2 separate regions of the Homo sapiens genome follow, and region 1 is linked to region 2. The links are contacts of gene promoters, found by promoter capture Hi-C in blood cells and fetal thymus (Javierre and others, 2016). All regions are on one chromosome and are shown on one strand. Each heading gives the region's core, a stretch centred on a gene start or on the middle of the fragment in contact. The rest is flanking DNA. Distances are from core to core; before and after follow the strand shown. Region 1 overlaps EXOC3 (exocyst complex component 3). Region 2 holds the start of CEP72 (centrosomal protein 72).

Region 1 (3,353 bases), core at 220-2,719, 160 kb after region 2:
AAACACATGCTACATTTCAGGAAAAGTTTTCATTAGAAAGTTATTATCAGCCGGGCATGGTGGCTCACGCCTGTAATCCCAGCACTTTGGGAAGCCGAGACGGGCGGATCATGAGGTCAGGAGATTGAGACCATCCTGGCTAACACAGTGAAACCCCATCTCTATTAAAAATACAAAAAAATTAGCGGGGCATGGTGGCACGCGCCTGTAGTCCCAGGTACTCGGGAGGCTGAGGCAGGAGAATGGCGTGAAGCCGGGATACACCTACTATGTACCCACAAAAATTAAAATTAAAAAGTTTTTTTAAGTCTAAGGTTTGACCACTCAGAAAATTCTTTCAACTCACACGCCTCATGCTATGTTCCGTAAATACGTTCTCAGAGTAACACTGAATAAAATGATTAAGAGCCAGTCCACTATAAGAAATCCGAGAGCTTCCTAAGTGAAAAAGTACTTCCTAAAATTCTGCACATTTTAAAAGACTTTTATTTAATCTGGATTATTTTTCCCAAGAACCTCAATTCCGTGTGAGAATGTTTCTAGTGGAGCACTTCAACCTCCCCTGAGAAAGGCCGGGGTGATGGAACTCACGAGACTCCCCAAGGACAGAAAAACACTCACAACGTGGAAAGACAAAATCAAGACACAAACTGTGCAAGGTGCACACATGCACAGCCCAGCCTAGTGGCCATGGCCCGGGAGGGCCCAGGGATGGGACTGGAATCCAGCTTCCCACTCACTGGCCGTGTCCCCTGCCTCCTGCCTCATGGGCTGCTGACACACACCAGGCACGGAGGGGGAGACCTGCACTGTCAAGGCTACAGAATGGGCGGCCATGAGGATGAGCGGCAGCCAGGGGAGGTGAGTCCAGGGCTGTGCACAGAGAGCCACAGTTGCACAGAGCGCCACGGTTGCACAGAGAGCCACCATTGCACAGAGCGTCACGGTGACCATTCTCTGCAGGGGGCGCTTCCTTTCTCTTCTGTCCTTCTGTATTGAAATGCAAATTCTCTATAAGCAGATACCAGTAAACAAAGCACACAAAAAAATATGCCTTACTGCTAAAAAAAAAAAAAAAAAAAATGAGGTTTATTCAATTTCTCCACTGCAGTGACAAGATGGGCGGAAGAAAAAAAAGAAGAAGAAGAAATTCCAATACATTACTTAATATTATTTTCTAACCATGAAACCATGGAAAATTGAAATAAATTTTCATTTCGGCTACCTAATCTTAAAGAATTTCAGAATACCCCCACCACTGCACCATTTTTCAACACTACTTCAAATTAATCCACGCACAGAGTGGTTCATGGTCCCTTAAGTGAAGTGACAAAACCTCGTACTAGGATACAAAAAGGATGATGGAGTTTCCTCGAACTATCTAGACTTGTAACTGTTTATTTTTGAAAGACTCACTGCTATAGGATATTGGTGAAGAGAAACCAAACCCGGGATGCTGGAAGCCAGGGAGGTGATGTAGTGGTCTCCTCCCCAGTGGGGTGGCCATGTGCCAGTCCCAGCCCCGCCTGGGACCATGTGTCCTCACCTGTAAAATGGGGTAACAACACACCTGCCTCAGGGTGTCACTGCAAGGAAGCAAGTCAGCACACGGTGAGCACAGGAAACAGGCCCAGCCCAGAGCTGCACCCTGTCAAGCTCAACGGGGGCTGGAGGCCAAGAGCAGAGATCCCTCCCAAGCACAACAGTGTTCAAACACCAGAGGCTGGGCACCAGCAGGCAGAGCAGAAAGAAGACACCCCTGGGCTGGAAACCAAGGCTGTGGGCTCGGAGCACCTGCCCAGAGCAACACCCTGAGGTCGGCTCTCCAGCAAGCAGCTGCAGGCCCCTCTCACACACGGCTTCTACCTAAGAGCCAACACAGGCGCCAGGTTAGCTTTACCTTGTGTAGGTGTTTAAGACCCACGTCAAGAGGCTCACGATCTCATTGGCTTCCAGGTCTTCCGATGCGAGGTCCTGCATCCGCGTGCTCAGGGCTTGGTGGTACATGTTCAGGAGGTTCTTAAAGATCTCATAGTGGGGAGGAAAGCACTGAACCATCAGGTTTTTGGCGACAATGAGGTCATCCAGGACGTACTTCCTTATAATTTCCAGGTGGCGGACAAGCCACATCTTGTCAGACTCTCTGGTATCTGCCTGTGTGCCCTCAATTCTGGTGGTCACAGTCCTCTCCAAGATGGTGAACATTTTCTCCTTCCAATTCTTGGGCCTCCCAGGAGGAACAAAGCCAGTTTGCTTTTTCCGGTCAAGTATGCGCCTGTCAATTTTCTCTTCCCTTTCAATGATCCTGACAACTGAGACCAGCAAGGTGGGGTCACGGCGGACAGTGACCAGTGACCTCTGCAGCACCATCCACAGCTGCTTAGCCAGCTCATCAGAGAGCCCCTGCGTGCTGCCAAAGTAGCCATGGATGAGGGTCATGTCACGCGTGTTCCCACTGTCCATGCGGTACTGCTCGTACATCAGCCCGTCCCGGGAGCACTCCAGGTCCATCAGCTTCCGGTGGGCTTGCAGGAGTGCCCCTTGTTCAATTAGGTCCTGGGTCTCCCTCACAATCTCAGGCACTAGGGAGAAGGCACAAGACACAACATAAACAACCACCACCACATAAAAGGCTGCCTGCATGCGGTGTTCTGGGAACACGGCAGAGCAGGAAGCCACATCTCCCTAGCTAACAACAACTGCAATGGCAGGATGTGTCTGAGGTAACTATCTTTGGAACTCTGGAGTCTATTAAAGGCATAAATGGTAAACTGTGGTTAACTGTGGTCATTTGCAGCTCTCAGCTGGGCAGTGGCTACCGAGGCCCCACCTCCCACCCCGCAGGCAGCTGTGCATGTGCTGATGTGTTCCTAAAGCTGCCTGCACACAGCCTGCAGCCTGGCTGGGCAAAAAGAACCCTGTCCTCCACACCGGAGATCTGTACTCAGATCACTGACTGCTGCTTCTGACCACAGAGGTGCGAAGAGGTAAGTGGCCACTGTTGCATCTTCCCCTGTTCACAGGTCCCTCCTCACCCCCACAGAGCTCCAGGGAATTTAAAGGGCCAATGTCTTCACCACCCCCTTCATCTGTTCCCCTTCTTGAAAGCCAGATATTTATGAATGAAGACATTCAAAAGTAACTGCATTTATAGGAAAAATTCGGAAGTGGCCAATGCATGCCCAGGCAAAGGCATAGGCTCAGAAAAGACTTGACACGACCTTGAAGTTCACACCTCAGGCTGTGCCTTGGCACAGAGAGCCTACAACAACCAAAAACAAGAATCATCAACCTGGGAAGGGGATCTGATTTCCAGAGTTATCACATTATTCGATTCAAGTGTCCATTTTTCA
Region 2 (3,823 bases), core at 718-3,217:
AGAAAATAGGAAAGTCTCAAATCAATAATCTACAGTTTTGCCTCAAGGATTTAGAAAAGTATAAAATAAATGCAAAGCAAGCAGAAAGAAGGAAATAAAAAAAAGCAGAAATCAATGAAATTTGAAACTAGAAAAACACTGGAGAAAAATCAAACCCAAAGTCGGTTCTTTGAAACTATCAATAACATTCACAAGCCTCTAGCAAGACTAAAAAAGAAAGAATACACAGATTATCAACATCAGGAACAGAAAAGGGATATCCCTGTAAACCTTGTAGCACTAATCAGGGAAGAAGGGAGGACTCGGCATGTCCCGAGGTCAGCTGCCCTCTCACCTGCTTCCTCAGAGCCCTGTGGTGCCTACTGCCTCAGGATCACTTGGATTTTGTCACGAGGTTACAGTTCCCCTTAACCACTCTACAGATAATAACCTGGACATTATAAACCGTTAAGTTTTCCATTTGAGATATTCTTTCAGGACCTGGGGACTGATGCCAGCTGGTCTAAAGGGCCCCGCAAGCGGATTCACCAAAGAATGCAGTTTCCACACCCTGATAATTCCATGGCCCTTACCTCCACCAACTGACAACACCAATCTTCCAGCTCCTCACAGTCCTGTTCCTCTAAAACCCCCAGCTCAGGCTGGGTGTAGGTGGCTCATGCCTGTAATCCCAGCACTTTGGGAGGCCAAGGCAGGTGGATCACCTGAGATCAGGAGTTCAAGACCAGCCTGGCCAACATGGTGAAACCCCGTCTCTACTAAAAATATAAAAAATTAGCCGGGCATGGTGGCGCGTGCTTGTAATCCCAGCTACTCAGGAGGCTGAGTGAATCACTTGAACCTGGGAGGTGGAGGTTGCAGTGAGCTGAGATTGTGCCACTGCACTCCAACCTGGACGACAGAGTGAGACTCCGTCTAAAAAAAAAAAACCGCTCAGATCTCCTTGGGGAGATGGATTGAGGCCTCCTTCCACCTCCCTGCTGGGCCCCTGCCAGCCTTAAACTCTTTCTCTGCTGCAAACCCCACTGTCTCAGTGTATTGGCCTGTGGCCCCCACAGCACCTGACTGAACCTGTTGGTCCAGTAACACCTGCAGACCACACACAGACATTAACAGGCTAACAACAGAACACCAGAAACAACTCAACACACACACTCCACAAGTTAGCTCAAATAAGCCAATGCCACAAAACCCCACACAGCCAAGACTCGCGGTGAACTAATATGAACGGTTCTCTAACAACCAGAGATACAGAATTTGTCATTTAAAAGCTTCAAAAACAGAAATTGACATGTCCATATGGTTTCACTGGAAAATTCCAGGAAACATTCAAACAATGAGCACACACTCTACAGAACCTCTTCTAAATATAAGAGAAGGCAACACTTCTCAGCAGTTTATGAGCTCGGCTTCACCTTGACGCCAAAACCAGACAAAAATAAGCCAAAAAGAAGGAAACCGGCCACCAACATCCTCAAGAAGGCCGAGCGCAACAATCACCACAGAGTGGGCCCAGGAGAACCAGGGAGGTGATCCCCAGCGGGAGGGCGGGCTGCGCTCCTGGACAGCAAGGCCGGCTCCCTCTTCTCAGCGGATGTAACCCCCAGTCACGGAACCAGTGACCCGATAGACAGGCAGGGGCCGGGACGCCGGGACCCGAACGCGGGCAGGGGCCGCACCTGGGCACGGGGGGTGGGTCGCTCACCTGGACACGCGCGCCCCGCTCGCCCGCGACCGTTCCGGACGCCCGCGGCGCCTGCGTAGACGGGTCCCGCCTGCCCACGGTCCGCCGCCGCCCCGGGAAGCTCGGCACCCACCCCCCCGCCACCTCACGCTTGCACCCCCGCCCGCCCTCCGGCGCACCCAGGTCGCGGTGAGGCCCTAAGCCGCTCTTCGCCCGAACCGCCTCCTCGCTCAGCACCAGCCGAGGGCCAGCCCGCGCCATGTTTCAAACGGAGCCCTCGGACGGCGCCTGCGCGGCGGGCGGGGCGAGGCTACGAGAGGGGCGGGACCTGCGTCGGCAGAACCGAGAGCCTGGCGGGACGGGGCGGGGCCTGCGCGGCGGGGCGAGGGGCGTGGCTGGGGGAGGGGGCGGGACTGCGTGGGCGGAACCAAGAGCCTGGCGGGGGGTTCTCCTGAATGGCGGTTCTCCCAGGTACTGGCCACGCGACCCCAGCCCCCGCCCCAGATAGCTCCCTGTCAAGGCTTCCCTGGGCGCGGCCGCCTTCTAGGCCCCGGCCCTTGACACACGCGGTGTCCTCCCGGGGAAACCCCGAGTAGGCGCGGTGGAATCGCGGCTGGTGGTGGGCATGGGGACCCTGCCCCATCCACACTCCGCTCCCACCCTGAACCCAGCGCCCCCGGGGACCCCCGACTCACCTAGACTCCCCACCCAACCCGACCCCCCCGCGGGGACCCCTCCAGACACCCCAGCACCCGCCCGGAGCCTTGTCTGCTGCACCTCCCGTCCAGCCCCGGGCCTCCCAGAGGTGGGCGGGAGCTGAGCTTCTCCCCAGCCAGTCACTCCCCACGGCCGGTCCTTCTCCACCCCAGAACCTCCAGAGATGTCACAGGCCCAGCACTGTGGCTCGTGGCTGACCGCGCCCTGGAGGGTCTCGCTGTGTTTATCCTTGTGAGGTCCTTCTACAGAGCTTTCAAGGAAGACAGAGTTCAGCCTGTTTATTGGGAAGACTTTAATCCTGCTCAAGACATCTACTGTGTCACCGTACCACTGTGGCCCAGCGCCTGGTGGAGTGAATCCAGACCCCCAGGGGTGTCCCCTCCCCGCCTTTCTCCTGGTGTCTAGGGGCACCCAGAAACCCTCACCCCAGATTAGACCAGCTCGTTGGCAACATCCCTGGTATGTCACAGCCTGGGGGGTGATAGACAAGGCAGGGTAGTGGTGGGGGGTACGTATGGTGGTAGTAGACGAGGGTATACACAGACAGAGGGTGTACATGGGGAATGTGTGCAGGGGCTGTGTGCAGGGAGTGTGTGTGGATGGTGTAGGGGAGTGTGTAGGGGAGTGTGTAGGGGGTGTGTGCAGAGGTTGTACACGGGGTGTGCAGGAGGTGTACTCAGAATGTGTTCAGGGAGTGTGTGCAGAAGGTGTACATGGGGTGTATGCAGGAGGAGTGTGCAGAGGGTGTACATGTAGGGGGTGTGTGCAGACAGTATACAGAAGGGGTGTGTGCAGAGGATGCACACAGGGTCTCTGCAGGGAGTATGTGCAGTGCTGTACATAAGGAGTATGCAGGGGGTATATACAGGGTGTATGTGCAAGGGGTGTGTGCAACAGTGTGTGCAGGAGGTGTGTGCAGGGTCTATGTGTGGGGGTGTGTGCAACAGTGTGTGCAGGAGGTGTGTGCAGGAGGTGTGTGCAGGAGCTATGTGTGGGGGTGTGTGCAACAGTATGTGCAGAGGTGTGTGTAGGGGCTATGTGTGGGGGTGTGTGCAACAGTGTGTGCAGGAGGTGTGTGCAGGAGGTGTGTGCAACAGTGTGCAGGGGGTGTACACAAGGTGTGTGCAGGAGGTGTGTGTAGATGTGTGTGCAGGAGGTATACACAGGGTTTGTGCAGAGGATGTGTGTGGGAGGTGTGTGCAGGGGATCTGTGCAGGGAGTGTACACAGGCTGTGTGCAGAGGCTATGTGCAGGGGGTGTGTGCAACAGTGTGCAGGGAGTGTACACAAGGTGTGTGCAGGAGGTGTGTGCAGAGGTGTGTGCAGGAGGTATACATGGTGTGTGAAGGTATGTGTAGAGGTGTGTGCAGGGGGTATACACAGGGTTTGTGCAGAGGATGTGTGAGGGAGTTGTGTGCAGGGG

The links. The method cuts DNA at HindIII sites, captures the fragments that hold promoters and counts their contacts. A CHiCAGO score of 5 or more calls a contact.
Region 1: a fragment that was not itself captured here is called in contact with the fragment with the promoter of CEP72 in region 2 in 2 of 17 cell types (M2 macrophages and naive B cells); the score reaches 6.9 in M2 macrophages.

The regions. Positions count from the first base shown.
Region 1 is chr5:452,599-455,951 of GRCh38, reverse strand. It overlaps EXOC3 (exocyst complex component 3), which reads right to left. Exons shown (of 13, transcript NM_007277.5): 4 at 1,901-2,582. Among named protein-coding and RNA genes, the nearest start is that of EXOC3, 11 kb to the right of the region's middle. The HindIII fragment of the contact is 5,460 bases long and covers 1-3,353 here.
Region 2 is chr5:610,484-614,306 of GRCh38, reverse strand. It overlaps CEP72 (centrosomal protein 72), which reads right to left and starts at 1,967. Exons shown (of 12, transcript NM_018140.4): 1 at 1,864-1,967. The coding sequence starts at 1,945. It overlaps CEP72-DT (CEP72 divergent transcript), which reads left to right and starts at 2,097. Exons shown (of 3, transcript NR_103444.1): 1 at 2,097-2,155; 2 at 2,554-2,860. RefSeq lists enhancers at 1,184-2,113, 2,114-3,044. The HindIII fragment of the contact is 7,839 bases long and covers 1,274-3,823 here.